Linked DNA regions of Homo sapiens: all the other regions are linked to region 1. Evidence: promoter capture Hi-C in 16 types of primary human blood cells and fetal thymus (Javierre and others, 2016). All regions are on one chromosome and are shown on one strand. Each heading gives the region's core, a stretch centred on a gene start or on the middle of the fragment in contact. The rest is flanking DNA. Distances are from core to core; before and after follow the strand shown.

Region 1 (3,765 bases), core at 577-3,076:
GACCTCGGTGGTAAGACACATTGTCGATAATTAAATAAATCCTCGAAAGTAATCCAGAAATGCCTCTGACTTTATTTCTTATACAATAATTATGTGAGGAAAAAGGGAAACTTTTTGCTGAGTTCTGGAACCCCAAACTCAGGGGAGAGTGGGAGAGGAGGAGTGCTGATTTTAGTTGTGGTTTGGGATGAGATGTAAAGGCCCTGGGGAGAAACAGTCACCAAGTCTGGCTGAGGGCGCTTGTCCTCCCGTCTTCCGCATGCGGGGGTCCAGAGCAGTTTTGGATCAGATGATGAGCGCCATCTGCAGGTAGCAAGCTGGAGGCAGGAGAAAATATCTGTGTACTGTTTAGGATTATTACAGAGCCGAAATAAAAGCCAGGTAAACCATTTGGCCCATCTCTGGTTCTCTTCATTCTGAAATTCAGCCCGATCCTGTAACCCCACAACCTACTGCCTGGCTCCTTCTTCCCCTTCACGGTCACATTTCTGCAAAGAGCGTGTTACGCTCTCTGCTTCCACTTCCTTCCCTCCCTTTCAGTCTTCAGTAGCTGCCATCTCCCTCTCCTCCCTCCTCACCAGGAGACTATGCTTGCCGCTCCTCAGCAGTCCAGCAGACACTTCTCTGACCTGAGGTATCGGTAGCACTGGAATGATAATCCCCCCGCCCCCCTCGACTTGCAACACTGCTTTATTTGGGGTCAAGGAAACACACAGCCCCAGCTTCTCTCCCATCACTCGGCCTCCCCTCTTGCAGATGCCACTATTATCCAGCCACTTGCACGGGCCATCCATGGCTGACCATGGAGTCATCCTTGAGCTTCTCCTTCTCTCAAGGCTCACATTCTTCAGCAAGTCCTGCTTTCACTATTAATTGAGAATCCTCGTTTTCTCAGTTCTTCTCTGCCAGCACCCCAGTCTCAGCCACCCTTGTCTCTCACTTAGGACACTATGGTAGCCACTTGGCTGATCTCTCTGCCTCCACTCTAGCCACCACGCAGCAGCCGGAGTGATCCTGTACATGTGAATCACACCGTGGAACCCCACTTCCTAACCCTCCAAGGCTATCCCCTGATATCCTGGGGTTATCAGGTTACATGTCACCGCCCTATAAACCCTCCCTGAGCCGCCACAGCTGGACTAGGAGCCACTCCTCATCTGTTCCAGGAACACAAGTATATTCTTTCCCAGAGCACCTATTGCCCACTGTGTTCACCATAGCTCCGTGAGCTCAGCGAGGGTTCAGTGAGTGAGTGCATGGCGCCTAGTAAATATTCCACAAAAAAAACTGTGAGTGTAATTGTTTCCCCCACATTTCTAGACATGTAGTATTAACAGATCAAGGAACAGAAAGCAAAACAGGGAAAGCAACGTAAAATTCTGATAATCACAATGATTGCTGAAAAAGTCCCCAAATAGGCAGCAAACATTCTAAAGGGGCCACAGTTTGTGAGTCATTTTATTCTTTTGTAAAGGGTCGGCTTGCGGCAAAAATTAAATGATCTTTGCGTTTGGGCAAGGTCTGGTGCCCCAAAGCTGCCGACTTGATCTGCGGTTGGGGCGAGCGGCAGGTAGGGGGCCCGGAGTTAGGAGGGGGTGTGGGAGCCCGTGGAGCACAGGTGAACTGAGGCCGCCTTCCCGGGGCGCCGCTGGCCAGCCCCAAAGGGTTACTTTGGCCTTGGCTGTGGGCCGAATGCGAAGGTGGGGAGGTGGGCGGGGGATGACTCTGCCATTCCTGGGTCCGCTGTGTTAGGCTGAAGGCAAAAGGAAACCAAGGCCTGGGAGTTTTCCAGGAAACGAAAGCGAAAGAGTCAAAGTTAGCGGCCCGGAGTTGGCGCGGCCCCTGCAGTCCGGCGGAGAGCGGAGCTGAGGATGGCTGTGCCCGGCTCCTTCCCGCTGCTGGTCGAGGGCTCCTGGGGCCCCGACCCCCCGAAGAACTTGAACACCAAGTTGCAGATGTACTTCCAGAGCCCGAAGAGGTCGGGAGGCGGCGAGTGTGAGGTCCGCCAGGATCCCAGGAGCCCATCCCGCTTCCTGGTGTTCTTCTACCCGGAGGACGGTGAGGGGCGCGAGGGGTGGGGTGAGGAGGGGGCACCTCTGCCCTCCCTCCAGGGAAATGGCGGCAGGGCACGCACGGGAGGGTGACCCGCCCGACTTCGGCGGCTGCTGTAGCGGAGGTGGCCGGGGCGGGGGCGGGGGCGGGGGCGGCAGAATGGATTCCGAGCGCACCCGGGGCGCTGCGGTTCCCCGGCGCCCTGCGCTTCCAGGCGCTTAATGGCGCGGCCCGGAGGTGGCGGCGGAACCGCGCAAGTAACTCTTTATCCCTCGATCGTTTTCTGTCTTTCCCTGTTGTGGTGGTGTTATTGTTTGTTGTTGTTGTTGTGGAAGTGAGTCTATCCTCTTATCATCCTTTTCTGTCTTTTCCTGTTGTTATTATTCTTGTGTGGGGAAGGAAACTGATTAAGAAACGTGGCAAGTCACAGAGATTCCTTGTGGTTCTTGGAGATTCCCAGGGGTCCCGGGGTCACTTGGGAGAGGGGCAGAGGCGCTACCTAAAATCACACTGCCTGAATGTCAACGTAGAGCCGTCACAGCGGCCACATTGGAGGGGCTGTCGATCGACCACAGGTGCCCATTGTCGAGGGCCTGCCGGGGCCTCTTCTCCGAGTCTCTAGTGGCCCTCAGATTGGGAGCAAGGATGATATTCTGAAGTGATTGTGGGTTGGGAGATTTGAGCTTTGGAGGGAAAGTCGGCAAAGTTCCCTCCTTACAGACCCACCACTACTTGGTGGGCCAAGAGCCCAGAGGTGATCTGCTGGCTCAAGGGCCTCCCTGGTCTGCAATGGGAAGCCAGTGACCTGCAGCTCCCAGAATGGGCACCTTTTCCACTGGCATCTTATGGATGATGACCTATCGGGATCTAGTCAACCCCTAATTCCGCTTTCATGTCGCTAGATTTGGAGAAGCATTCGGGCCAGAGGAGAGGCAAGGAGGCTGAGGCTGAGGCCATGCAATTAGAGTGCCCAAGCAGGGATCCAAAAAGGAAAAATGAAACAGAAAAAGAATGGCGCACAGAAGGAAGGAAGGAGGGGGACAGGAGATATGCTTGGCTCATGGCCCTTATGAAAACAAAATACCATGTTTTCCTAGGATTAATTTTACCAAGGAGTGCTCAGAAGGGCAACTGTGTGATATTAGTCATTTCTCTTTTGGGTGTCACTTTTCCTTGAGGGTTTTCCCCACTTTGACTTCAGAGGTCAGCATCACCATCGATCTGGCCCTTAAGGATGCTTCTTTCTCCTTTAGATTCCATTATCCTTAGAAGTAGGTCTGACCTGCATCTGAATCACCTGGAGAGCAGGTTAACCAGGCACCTTCCCAGCTCTGTTTTAGAGATTCAGGTTCAGTGAATGTGGGGTGGGTGGGAAGCGTGTATTTAACCGGCAGCCCAGGTGACCCTAATGTGTTCAAGTTTCAGAATTTCCGTAGTTAATGTTAACCCCAAATGAACAAAAAGAAATAATTATACAAATTTAAACAGCATGAAAATACAAATAGCACAAAGTATAATTTTGTGATGATAAAATAACTCAATTCTAGCCCTCCAAGCAGAAAAGATTTCAGTCTTCCTGCTGGGCTTCCATCCTTGACCGGCCCCAGCCCACTACTCCTCTTCCTCCACCCCCAGGCTGCTCCAGTGGCCCCTCTTGTCTTACCCCCCAGCACAGATGACCCAAAACTTATTAAAACTCAAAACCGGCCGGGC
Region 2 (3,765 bases), core at 616-3,115, 310 kb before region 1:
AAACAATTTCTGACGACTGAAACCATGAAAGAGAAGATTGTGTTGAATCAGCTACCTCATCTAAAAACATAACTGGCAGCATCTCTGAGGGTGGAAGGTATGAGGTCTGGGGCTGTCCTCTTCCTCAATATGCTCCTGGTATTGACTTCAGCTTTCCTTCTGCATTCCCCAAGCTGGGCTTTTCTCACTTCAGTTTCCTCTGCCCTACACCACTGACTTTCCCCATGATTCCATTCATGTGTTCCTCTATTCTACAACCACCCGCACACACCTGGCCACTTAAACGGCTATTCTTCCTCTCTTTGTCCTTTCATATTTTTTCCTGTCTCACATTGTCAACAAGTGAAAGAAATTATAAACTAAGTCATGTATAGAAGATTTCATTACAATAAATAACAAAGAATGCTACCTTTACCTTCGCAAGACAGAGCCCTTTTCAAGATTATAAAATATAAGTATTGATAAGGAAAACTTATATATGAAGCACAGATTAGTGGTTGCATCAATTGTGTGTGCTTATTGAAATTAAGGATGTCTGACAGAACAACTCTTGATAACCTCCATCTTAATGCAACAAATTAATAAAAACATTTCTCATTTATTTCCCATCTTGATTCTAAAGTATCATGGTCATGTTTCAAACATACTTCCATAATCATAGCCACATTTTGATAATACCCCAAAATCTGCATTTGTTAAACATTGTTTCAAGTTCATAGACTCTATTGTTCAGTATTGATTTTTATGTTTACCATGGGAATAAACAATGTAAAGCTAGAAAAATGTCATAGATTGAAGGGAATATGCTCTAATAAGATCTCATTGAAATTTACAAGTTTTACCTTGAGTATACTTTTGAGATTTGAAATTTCTAAAATGAGTGCTTCATAATAACCTTACTGATCAACTCCTAGGAAGAAGCGTTATTTGAAAAGGCAAATATCCCTTCTTCAGCTACAGAAGGAAGCTGGGTCAGGGATTAAAGTCAGGGTGAACATGAGCAACTTGGATATTTCATAGAGTTCTGCTTCTTGACTGACATAATACTTAAGGGAACTCAGTGGTGCTTATTGGTATGGGCACTCTGCTGCAGGCTCGATCCCTGGCACAAAGCTACTTGAAAAATTAAGCTTTACTTGATATACATGTTGCTGAATCCTTCCAGGATATAGATACAGAGAAAAACTCAAACACACACACAGGATTTCCAAAACAGAAGAGTTCTAAATTTAGTATGCAAGCTTATCCTGATTCAACAAGGAGATAAAAAACAACAACTTGTGATTCTCACAGGGCCTGTTAAAAAAAAAATGATAGCAGTAGCAGCAAACATTTTTTTGAGACAGGGTCTTGCTCTGTCACTCAGGCTGGACTGTGGTGGTGTGATCTTGGCTCACTGCAACCTCTGCCTTCTGGGCTCAAGCAATCCTCCTGCCTTAGCCTCCCAGGTAGCTGGGACTATAGGCGCACACCACTACGTCCAGCTAATTTTTGTATTTTTTGTGGAGATGTGGTTTCGCCATGTCACCCAGGCTTGTCTTGAACTCCTGGACTCAAGTGATCCTCTCACCTCAGCCTCCCAAAGTGTTGGGATTACAGGTGTGAGCCACTGCACCTGGCCAGCAATATTTGTATACAAAACACTTAGTACTGTAAGCACTTTATAATTCAATGCGCCAACAACTCTATGAACTAGGTACCATTATTATACTATTTTACAAATATTAAAACTGAGGCAGACAGCCGGGCATGTTGGCTCACGCCTGTAATCCCAGCACTCTGGGAGGCCAAGGCGGGTGGATCACTTGAGGTCAGCAGTTCAAGACCAGACTGGCCAACAGGGTGAAAACCCTATCTCTACCAAAAAATACAAAAAAAATCAGCCAGGCATGGTAGCGTGTGCCTGTAGTCCCAGCTACTTGGGAGGCTGAGGTGCAAGAATCATTTGAACCCAGGAGGTGGAGGCTGCACTGAGCTGAGATTCTGCCACTGTACTCCAGCCTGGGTGACAAAGTGAGACACTGTCTCAAAAAAAAAAAAAAAAAAAAAAAAACTGAGGCAGAGGTTATGTGACATAATCAAGGTTACCCAGCTAGGAGGTAGCAGATGTGAGATTAATCTAGATCTAGAGTCCATATTGTTAATCACTACACTATAAACGTCTAGGTTAATAGGAAGATTGTAAATGGAAACAATTTTATAGATTATGGAGATTATATGAGTAGTGAGGTGAGAGAGGGAGTATCACCAAAGTGACCATAAATTCTAGTTCTTCAGACAGAGGTACCCAAAGAAAGTGAACTGTCAAACAACCTCATAGCCAATTAGGACTAGGTCCCATCCTGTCGACTCCCAATACTGAATTCTACTCATTAAAGTCCACAATCTTATGATTTTCTCAAAGAAGACTTACCTGCTCATTTAAAATAACATACTTTAACACAGAACAAAAATATCAGTAGTTAATGCTCTGAATTTAACTGACATGGATAAGCTTGTCCAAAACTGATCTGAGAAAGGCAGTTTAGGTTTTAAGGATGCCTTCTTTACGACTATGAATCCAAACAGTAACCTTGTGGTAGAGCTTAAAATAGCAAGTGTCATTTGAACTTTAGCTTCCAAATTACTAAAAGAATATAGGTAAATAAACTATAAAAAAGATTTTGCTGCATCATTATTTCCTTCTGCTTTTGGAGACTAAAAAAGAGAAATAAAGGGGGGCAATGAAAAATGTATACTTGAGAAACCAAAGCCTCAGGAAAGGACAACTGATCCACTGGCTTTCCTTCTCTCCCAGTTGCCAAATGCTTCTATTCCCCTTCCTGAGGAGTGAGAAAAAGAAGGTTTAAAGGTGTGAAGGGTTTTAATTCTTCCTTGTACCAGCTGCCTGGCTTTTTAGGACTGACGTGCTCACATTCCTTGCTCTTGTTACTGTTTTACTTCACTGTTTCACTCTCCTCCTTTCATTCCTTTGTACATAAGGTCTCCTTAAGTTAAAGGCTACAAAACAACTGCTCCCATTCTTTAGAACCATTTCTTCCCAGGTTTGGTAAGATTTCACAAGCGTAAGGTCACACATTTTCTTTAATGTGTAGTAACCAGATCAAAACTTATATACACCATCAGGTATAGGCAAAGAAAAGATGTCATTCCTTTAGTCACAGTCGAGTTACAAGATAACTGATTTCTTATTCAGCCTGCAAAGAAAGGCATGAAAGAAGCAAAAGACTCAAAAAATACACTTACAGACTCATAAAGTTGTTTACAGGTTTGGCTGGCATCAATTTTCCCTGCAAAGGAAGCTGTTGGAACCGTAGTGTTTAATTCATGTACTATTCTGTCATCAATTGTCCTCATCACCTTGAGTAATTCCTATATGTATTTAAAATAAAAGAATATAACCCAAATGGAAAGTTAGTGACAAAAAATAAGCATTTAAGTAAAAAATAAAGCTCTTGGATATTTTACAATCCTTTAAGTCAGGAGTGAGGAAACCAAGCCAAATACATGCAACCATAAGAAAATGTTCAAGGACAATAGGTAGGTTAAGTAATGGTAATCCTAACAGTGGGCACCAACTCTGCCTCCTTGGCTCAAATGTGATTGTCTTAAGGGTTAAGACTGTTTTACTCATGTTGAAATCCCATTTGCTGGCACGGTGTTTAGCAAACAGTGTATGCTCCTTCCACCTCCAGCATACAGCCAATAAAGTGTACTACTAGTTTTTATTTTTTCTTAGTAACCATAGCTCATATGTTCCAAGGA
Region 3 (3,765 bases), core at 449-2,948, 290 kb before region 1:
TACCCCCACATTTGGCTTTACTTATTGCTCCTTTCCAGGTCTTGCCAAGTATTTATTGAGTACACAATGGATGCCCTGTGTGTATACTGTGAAGGCTCTAAAATGAATGGACTGCCCCACTCCTAGGGCTGATTTATTGCAATGAACAAACAAACATATATAATATACCATTGGCTTCAAGAATTCTGAGATTCTTGAAGGCTCCATTGAAATGAAGGGGTGTGAGAGTGATGTGAGCACATGTAGGGGCGGTAATGAGTTGTGAGCACATGTAGGGGCGGTAATGAGTCTGAAAAAGGATATGAGAGAGGAAAGATTACCTTAGGGATTTTGATCAGGAGGCAATAGGAGGTAAAGTGTAGTGTTTGGAGACGTTTGAACCAAATGAATTTGGACCAAAAAAACCTTTTAGCAGGAGAAGTAACACAAGAAACATTTCTGGAAAATTAACTCAGCAACTACATACCAGTTGAATTGCTGCTACCTATGAAGATATTACAGTAACTGATGTGTGAGGTGATGATGGAAATAACGAATATATTTAGGAAGTGTCTTGAAGAAAGGATGAGTTTGGAGATACTGAGTAAGGAAGGACTTAAAGACAAGTTTTTTAATGTTGAGGACTACAGAAGTATTGCCTCATTGTCAGAAATAAGAAAGTTGGAAAAATAATCAGAAACGCCATCAAAGATTTGTGTTAGTTTGGCAGAGAAGATGGTGCATTATTGAGTAGGTTTAGGTGGCACTGAGTTATAGGTTGTGAGAGGTTGAAGACCTGAGGGCAAAGGAAGAGTAAAGTTATGGAGATAAAGATATGGGAGCAATTAGTCTGGAGTTGATTTTTAAAACAGAATGGAGGAGTCCTTCCAGAGAGTAGCACAGAATAGAAGCAAGGACTAAGCCTTGGAGGTGTGACATGGTGTAAATAATAGGAACTGGGAAAGAAGACATTAAAGAAGATTGGTCATAGAGGTTGGAGATGAAGTGAGAGAATTTGGTGGTACAATGTAAGGAGGCATTGAATCCTTGTAGAAAGATGAGATCAGTCGAATCAAATGGCCACAAAAATGGGAAGAGTAGAGTCAGAAGGGCTAATGATGAGAATCTAAAAAAATGTATTCATGACCGGGCACGGTGGCTCAAGCTTGTAATCCCAGCATTTTGGGAGGCCGAGGTGGGCGGATCACGAGGTCAGGAGATCGAGACCATCCTTGCTAACACGGTGAAACCCTGTCTCTACTAAAAACACAAAAAATTAGCCGGGCGTGGTGGTGGGCGCCTGTAGTCCCAGCTACTCAGGAGGCTGAGGCAGGAGAATGGCGTGAAGCCGGGAGGCAGAGCTTGCAGTGAGCTGAGATCACAGCACTGCACTCCAGCCTGGGCAACAGAGCAAGACTCCGTCTCAAAAAAAAAAAAAATGTATTCATATGACTAGAAAGAGGTCACTAATGTTGGTAGAGTAATTTTAGTAAAATGATTGGAGAAGGAAACATTGTAGCAAAATAAAGTGTGGGTGGTGAAGTGAAGTAGTAGATACATGCCATTTATTCAATCATTTGAGCTATGAAAAAGAGGAAATAAGAATTTTATTAATAGTACCTGTTGAGAACAAGTGAATGCTTTGTCCAACATAGTGGACCTTCAGTGTTATTGTAGAGTAATAAGACAGAATTCTCAGTAACTACTAGTAGAAGTTACTGGAGAAGTAGTCAGCCTTTCTGGAAAGTAGTATAGATGGATAGATAGATAGATAGATAGATAGATAGATAGATAGATAGATAGATAGATAGATGAGATAGATAGATGGAAACTTAAAGGGGTTCATACCCTTTTACCCTTCACTTCCAGGATTTTATTCTAAGGAAATAATCAGAAATACCATCAAAGATGTATGTAGAGAACTGTTCATTGAAACATTACTTATAACACTGAAAAATTGGAAAGAAATCAAGTTGTAGGGAATTACTACATTCAGATTATAGCTGTGTGTCGGGTTTTATACAGCTATTAAAAGTATTAATATCTTGGAAAGTATTTGTGACATAGCAAGATACAGTATTATCTGATTATGAAAAATGTATATGTTTTATGTAAGTATAGGAAAGGTCTGAAAAGAAATATTAATGCACCAAGTTGTTATCCCTAAGTGCTATGATTATGAGTGCTTTTATTTTTCTTCACATCTTTTTTTAACTTCCAAATTTTCTGTAATGAGCAAGTGTTACTTTTATCATTTAAAGTTTGTTTTACTAAAAGCTTTTTACATAACATGGTGTGTAACAACTTGGTGGTACAAAGGTTTTTACATAGTGAGACCCGATCTCTACAAAACAAATTTTTTTAATTAGCTAGACATGGTGGCATCTGCCTGTGGTCCCAACTACTCCAGAAGATGATACAGGAGGATCGCTTGAGCCCGGTTCAAAGTTACAGTGAGCTATGATCTCTCCACTGCCCTTTACCCTAGGTGACAAAGTGAGACCTTGTCTCTAAAAAAAAAAATAAGTTTTTTAGTTTTGATTTTAAAGATGGGGGAGATAACATTTGGCAGGAAAAAGGCAGTGGAAAATAAGGATAAGTTTGGTACGACATCCCTCAGCAGAGGGATTACTACTTAAGAATAAAGGAAGACTGGTATTTCTTCAAGCCTGCAGGGAAGGATGAGAAAACGGATATAGGGAGTCTGTTTCTGTCACAAAGCCCAGGTCAACAGCTAAGGCCTAGAGAGTTTCAGATAGACACTCTGGGGAGTGGGTTGTAATATTGATTCTCTGATTCCCAGAGAGTTGTCATATCTCCAGTCACATCACCTATGGTTTTCTCCAAGAGGACCTTGAAAGATTCTGAGAAAGAAAAAGCATCCCTACCTTTCCTCACTGTCTATCATGGGGTTGGAAAGGATATTTATGGAAAGGAGGGGACTACCAGGAGAGAAGCTGGTACTTCAACCAGCCTCACCCTGGCTGACCACTATAGCCTCCAGCTAGCAATGATATTTCTAAGGCACTGGTTTTCAGATTATGGGTCCCCCATAGCAGAAGTTTCACCATTACCTGGGCAATTGTTAGAAGTGCACATTCTCAGGTTCTGTCCATACTGACTGTATCAGTTGGGTCCAGTAATCTGTTTCACAGGGTCCCCCAGGTGATTTCGATAGATAAAAAAGTTAAGAACCTTTACTCTTAAGATTAGCCGTTTGCCACCCAGAGCCTTAGAGACAGCTGTGAGGCTTCATCTTAACTTCCTGCTAGGGCCCTGGAGACACAGAATTGGTCAGCCAGGGACAAGCTGTTAAGTCCAGCTAGAGGGTTAAAGGGCTGTTTTTCTTTTGGTTTGTATGTTTTTAATCGTGATCCACCAGAGGATGGAAAATTTCTGGCTTGGACGTCTGGTCAATATATTCTGTCTCTTTGAGAGAAAACGAAGGTCTTAGTAATGATATTAAAGTTTGTTTATGCTTTCATGTTGTTATAATTGCAAAATAAAAACCAAGACCACATCAAATACTTCAGACATTTTTTAGCGATAACTTTTTAAAATTTAAAATTTTATTTTATTTTATTTTTGAGAGAAGGTCTGGCATTATCGCCCAGGCTGAAGTGCAGTGGCATGATCTCAGCTCTCTGCAACCTCTGCCTCCAGGGCTCAAGCCACCCTTCTGCCTCAGCCTCCTGAGTAGCTGGGACCACAGGCACATGCCACTGCGCCCAGCTAGTTTTTGTATTTTTTGTAGAGGTGGGGTTTCACTATGTAGTGATAACATTT
Region 4 (3,765 bases), core at 677-3,176, 270 kb before region 1:
AAATAAGACATATTGGGAACAAGCCTGGAATATCATCCTTGGGGATAGATAGCAAATCCTAACTTTGGCGTGGTGAAGAAGGACTAGATTCATTTTGTGTAATGTAAATTTAAAAAGTGTTTCTGATGACAGGTGTCATAATGTAAATTAAGAAATAGGACACTGGCATATTTAATCACCCACTGCATATTTCCAGAGTGCTCTTGGTACCCAAGTGTATTTACCCTCACCATAACTGCCTTCAGCATGGTGAGCTTTCTTAGCGGGGTTCTTTATTTGAAGCTCAGCCAGACAGGGCCATGTGTCTAAGGACCACAGCTCCTAAGCAGTACATAGGAATACAAGTCCAGAAATCTTTAGCACAGATTATAATTAATAGCTATCACTAATTGAACACTCACTGCATTCCAGGTACTTTTCTAGCTGGTATCTCATCTGAACCTCACAAAAACACTGTAAGATAAGTATTATTAGGACCTGATTTATAGATGAGGAAAACTATAGCTTAGAAAGCTTTAGTAACTTGCCCAAGGCCACATATCTCCTTAATGACGAGCCACAGTGTGAACCTAGACCCAATTCAGGTAATAGGAAAATTCCTCCCATTTATTGAGTGCTTATTATGTAACAGGCACTGTTAAGCTCACTTAATCACCCCCATAACCCTAAGAGGTAAATAGTTTTCCCAAACTCACACAGCTAACAAGTGGCAAGATAAAAATCTAGACCCAAGTTTGCAGGTTACCAAACCTCATACTATACTATCTTGCTATTAAGCCATAGTTATTTTTATATTCAGCAGCTTTGGTCAAATTCTTCTTTTAATACCATGTATAATTCTATATATCACAGCTTCCATGTGGAAAGTGATGTCTTACAACTACTTTAAGATACTAAAAAGGTCCTTCTATACACGCACTCTTAACTGACTTTCTTATCCTCAGTAATTCCAGAGTAAAAGGAAATGTACTTTTGGCTGTCTTCATTCTTGCAGTTAAATGGAAATACTGACCATTTTAGGCTGACCTCATGGGAGTACGAAGGGGCAAATGTGCTGAGCTGGGTGAAGTTCTCTTGAAAACTCTGTTCCCACCCCACTTCATTTTTTCTTGTCTCCCTCTTTGACCTCTCATGCATAGTTCTCAGATTAAAACCAGCAGAAACATGTGGACAGGACTGTGAGCTTCTAGGATTCTGAGAAATTTGCATTGCTTTTGTATACTCGATTGTACTAGCTGAGTTTAAATACTCCAGAAGCAAATTATTCACCTGGAATCTCTTCTAGCATCATCCAGGGGTATATGCTGTGTATTTTAGAGAGTTCTTCTCCTGTTCTTTACCATAAAATTGTAACATTTTAGTTTTATGGAATTTCTGTTTCCATAAATACTACTGGAATGGAGAACTTTTGAACTCAATGTGATTTGGAAGAGAAAAATTAGCCATTGTATATTTTGCTCTCACCATCAACTTCCCTTTCTCCCCCCGCTCCCCCACCCCCCGCCACATACCCAATTCTTTTACATATGAAATTACACAGATAGAAGGAAATATCAGCTTAGGGTGCTAGTTTCACTATTTGGTATAAAAGTGTTGAAACTGGCCTGTATGTAAGCTTCATAGAAATCTGACCGTTTACATGGAGGGAAACAAGGGAAGAGGACGGTTGCCTCCCCCACTCAAAGGTTGGAATTGTAGTACAGATACTCGTGGAAATCATCAATGGTAGTATTTGGGTAAAGTCTGGGATTCCCAAAGCTGAATGTTTTTGGTAAAAGAGAAGTGAGGAACTAGAAGGATCTGAGTATGCAGATAAGTTGGGGAAGGAGAAATGGCAGCAACAGAGAAAAGTGAAAGAAGAAAAACGGGATAGAAATGGCAATGAGAAGGTATTTAGTATAAAAGAGAAGTGGGGTGGAATGAGAAGAAAGTATAAGAGAAAAGGAGAGGATAAAGACTGAAAGAAAGGGGCCAGAAGGGAAGAAAAAGGAGAGGTGTGGCACTTCTTACTTATGCTTGAGTGGATGAGCTGCTGTTCTTGGAAGCGTACGAGGAAGTTGAAGCACATAGAGGAAACTGCCGTGCTCAGTGTGCAAGCAGCAGAGGACTCCATGCCTCCATGCCTCTGTTAACCTGCTGTCATCAGTGCAAGGTAAAGACACCCTCCCCTGACCAGCATACAAATCACCTGTTCAAATCTGTTTTGCTTTAGGCTGCCCAAAGACACGAGACTTTAACAAGCTTGAACTTAGAAAAGAAAGCTCGTCTGAAAGAGGAAGCAGCTATGAAGGCCAAAACAGAGTAGCAGAGGTATCCGTGTTGGCTGGATTTTGAAAATCCAGGAATTATGTTATAACGTGCCTGTATTAAAAAGGATGTGGTATGAGGATCCATTTCATAAAGTATGATTTGCCCAAACCTGTACCATTTCCGTATTTCTGCTGTAGAAGTAGAAATAAATTTTCTTAAATAATGACTGTGTTTTATTGTTTTGATCCAAGTCAAGTGTAGCCTCTCAGCCTTTTGGAGAAAAATGAAACAATTTATTTCAACTTGAATACCAACTCTTCAGAGAAGCAGGTACCATATCTTACTTCTCTTCCCATTATCAAAGTAACCTCTCCACAGGCGAACTCATTTTGAGGAGATAAGGAAGGCCAGTTGAGTATATGGCCCAGGTGCAGCTTGGAGGGCCAGCCTTCTCAAATGTCCTGGTGTACTGGTGGGGAGGCTGCCCCCTAATAGAGCGAGCGCTGAGAAGCAGCCAGACCACATTCTATAATCTTTGAACATGCTGGCAGATGGAGGCTTTTAGGAGAATAGTTTTTTAAACATTCTGACAAGGTCCAGCCAGGAATTTCTAAGGACTTAGAAATCCCAGCGTCATGGAGTTGCTTGGGGTCAACACAAGTCACCTCTTAGCTTCATGCCTTAGAATTCTCAACTGGCTGTTTTCTTACCACCTGAGAAACTAAATTTCTCAATTATAAAAATCTCATGTATTATTACTGTTAGAAGTATTTGCACCTCATATATATCTCATTTACAGTTTGACCTTGGGATATCGAGTTGTCTCATATTTAGGTATGAATACAGGTTTCTATTTTAAACATTGATTCTCACATGCTTCTTAATTATTCATGGATGACAAGCCATTATAGTAGTCCCTTCTTATCCACGGCTTTGTTTTCTGTGGTTTCAGTTACCTGAGGTCTGAAAATATTAAATGGAAAATTCCTATAACAATGCATAAGTTATAGATTACATACCATTCAGTGTAGCATGATGAAATCTCTTGCCAATCTGTTCCATCCACCTGGGATGTGAATCATCCCTCTCTCTGGTGTATTCACACTGTATGTGCTAGCCGTCTCTGTTACGAGATCAGCTGTCGTGGAATCAGTGCTAGTGTTCAGGTAACTCTTATTTAATAATTGCCTCAAAGTGCATTGTGCTGTGCCTAATTTATAAAATAAACGGTATCATAGGTATGTATGTATACGAAAAACATAGTATATGCAGGGTTGGGTACTATCCACAGTTTCAGGCATCTACTGGGGGGTCTTGGAATATATCCCCAGAGGGTAAGGGGTGACTACTGTATACAGCCATGCCAACATGCTGGTTCTCAGAGAGTTATAAGAGAGATTAAAAATACATGCAGCTGTTTGGGCACTTTCTTCCCAAATAAAATACCCAGTAAAATGTAACATACTACCTATAGCTTGATAATCTATCTGAGGATGTTTATGATGTCTGTCTATA

The links. The method cuts DNA at HindIII sites, captures the fragments that hold promoters and counts their contacts. A CHiCAGO score of 5 or more calls a contact.
Region 2: a fragment that was not itself captured here is called in contact with the fragment with the promoter of PARP14 in region 1 in 3 of 17 cell types (non-activated CD4 T cells, activated CD4 T cells and naive CD4 T cells); the score reaches 5.8 in non-activated CD4 T cells.
Region 3: a contact is called between a fragment that was not itself captured here and the fragment with the promoter of PARP14 in region 1, in 2 of 17 cell types (activated CD4 T cells and total CD8 T cells). The highest score is 6.7, in activated CD4 T cells.
Region 4: a fragment that was not itself captured here is called in contact with the fragment with the promoter of PARP14 in region 1 in 11 of 17 cell types (activated CD4 T cells, total CD8 T cells, naive CD8 T cells and 8 more); the score reaches 9.9 in activated CD4 T cells.

What each region holds. Positions count from the first base shown.
Region 1 is chr3:122,679,013-122,682,777 of GRCh38, forward strand. PARP14 (poly(ADP-ribose) polymerase family member 14) reads left to right here and starts at 1,827. Exons shown (of 17, transcript NM_017554.3): 1 at 1,827-2,058. The coding sequence starts at 1,872. RefSeq lists enhancers at 815-934, 1,338-2,110, 1,535-1,934, 2,476-2,565 and a silencer at 2,175-2,224. The HindIII fragment of the contact is 13,941 bases long and covers 1-3,765 here.
Region 2 is chr3:122,368,429-122,372,193 of GRCh38, forward strand. It overlaps MIX23 (mitochondrial matrix import factor 23), which reads right to left. Exons shown (of 5, transcript NM_001017928.4): 2 at 3,247-3,372. Among named protein-coding and RNA genes, the nearest start is that of MIX23, 13 kb to the right of the region's middle. The HindIII fragment of the contact is 1,253 bases long and covers 1,240-2,492 here.
Region 3 is chr3:122,387,645-122,391,409 of GRCh38, forward strand. The region is part of intron 1 of FAM162A (family with sequence similarity 162 member A); the gene reads left to right. Among named protein-coding and RNA genes, the nearest start is that of FAM162A, 5.3 kb to the left of the region's middle. The HindIII fragment of the contact is 1,112 bases long and covers 1,143-2,254 here.
Region 4 is chr3:122,407,527-122,411,291 of GRCh38, forward strand. It overlaps FAM162A (family with sequence similarity 162 member A), which reads left to right. Exons shown (of 5, transcript NM_014367.4): 5 at 2,213-3,765. The coding sequence ends at 2,305. Among named protein-coding and RNA genes, the nearest start is that of WDR5B, 6.7 kb to the right of the region's middle. The HindIII fragment of the contact is 626 bases long and covers 1,614-2,239 here.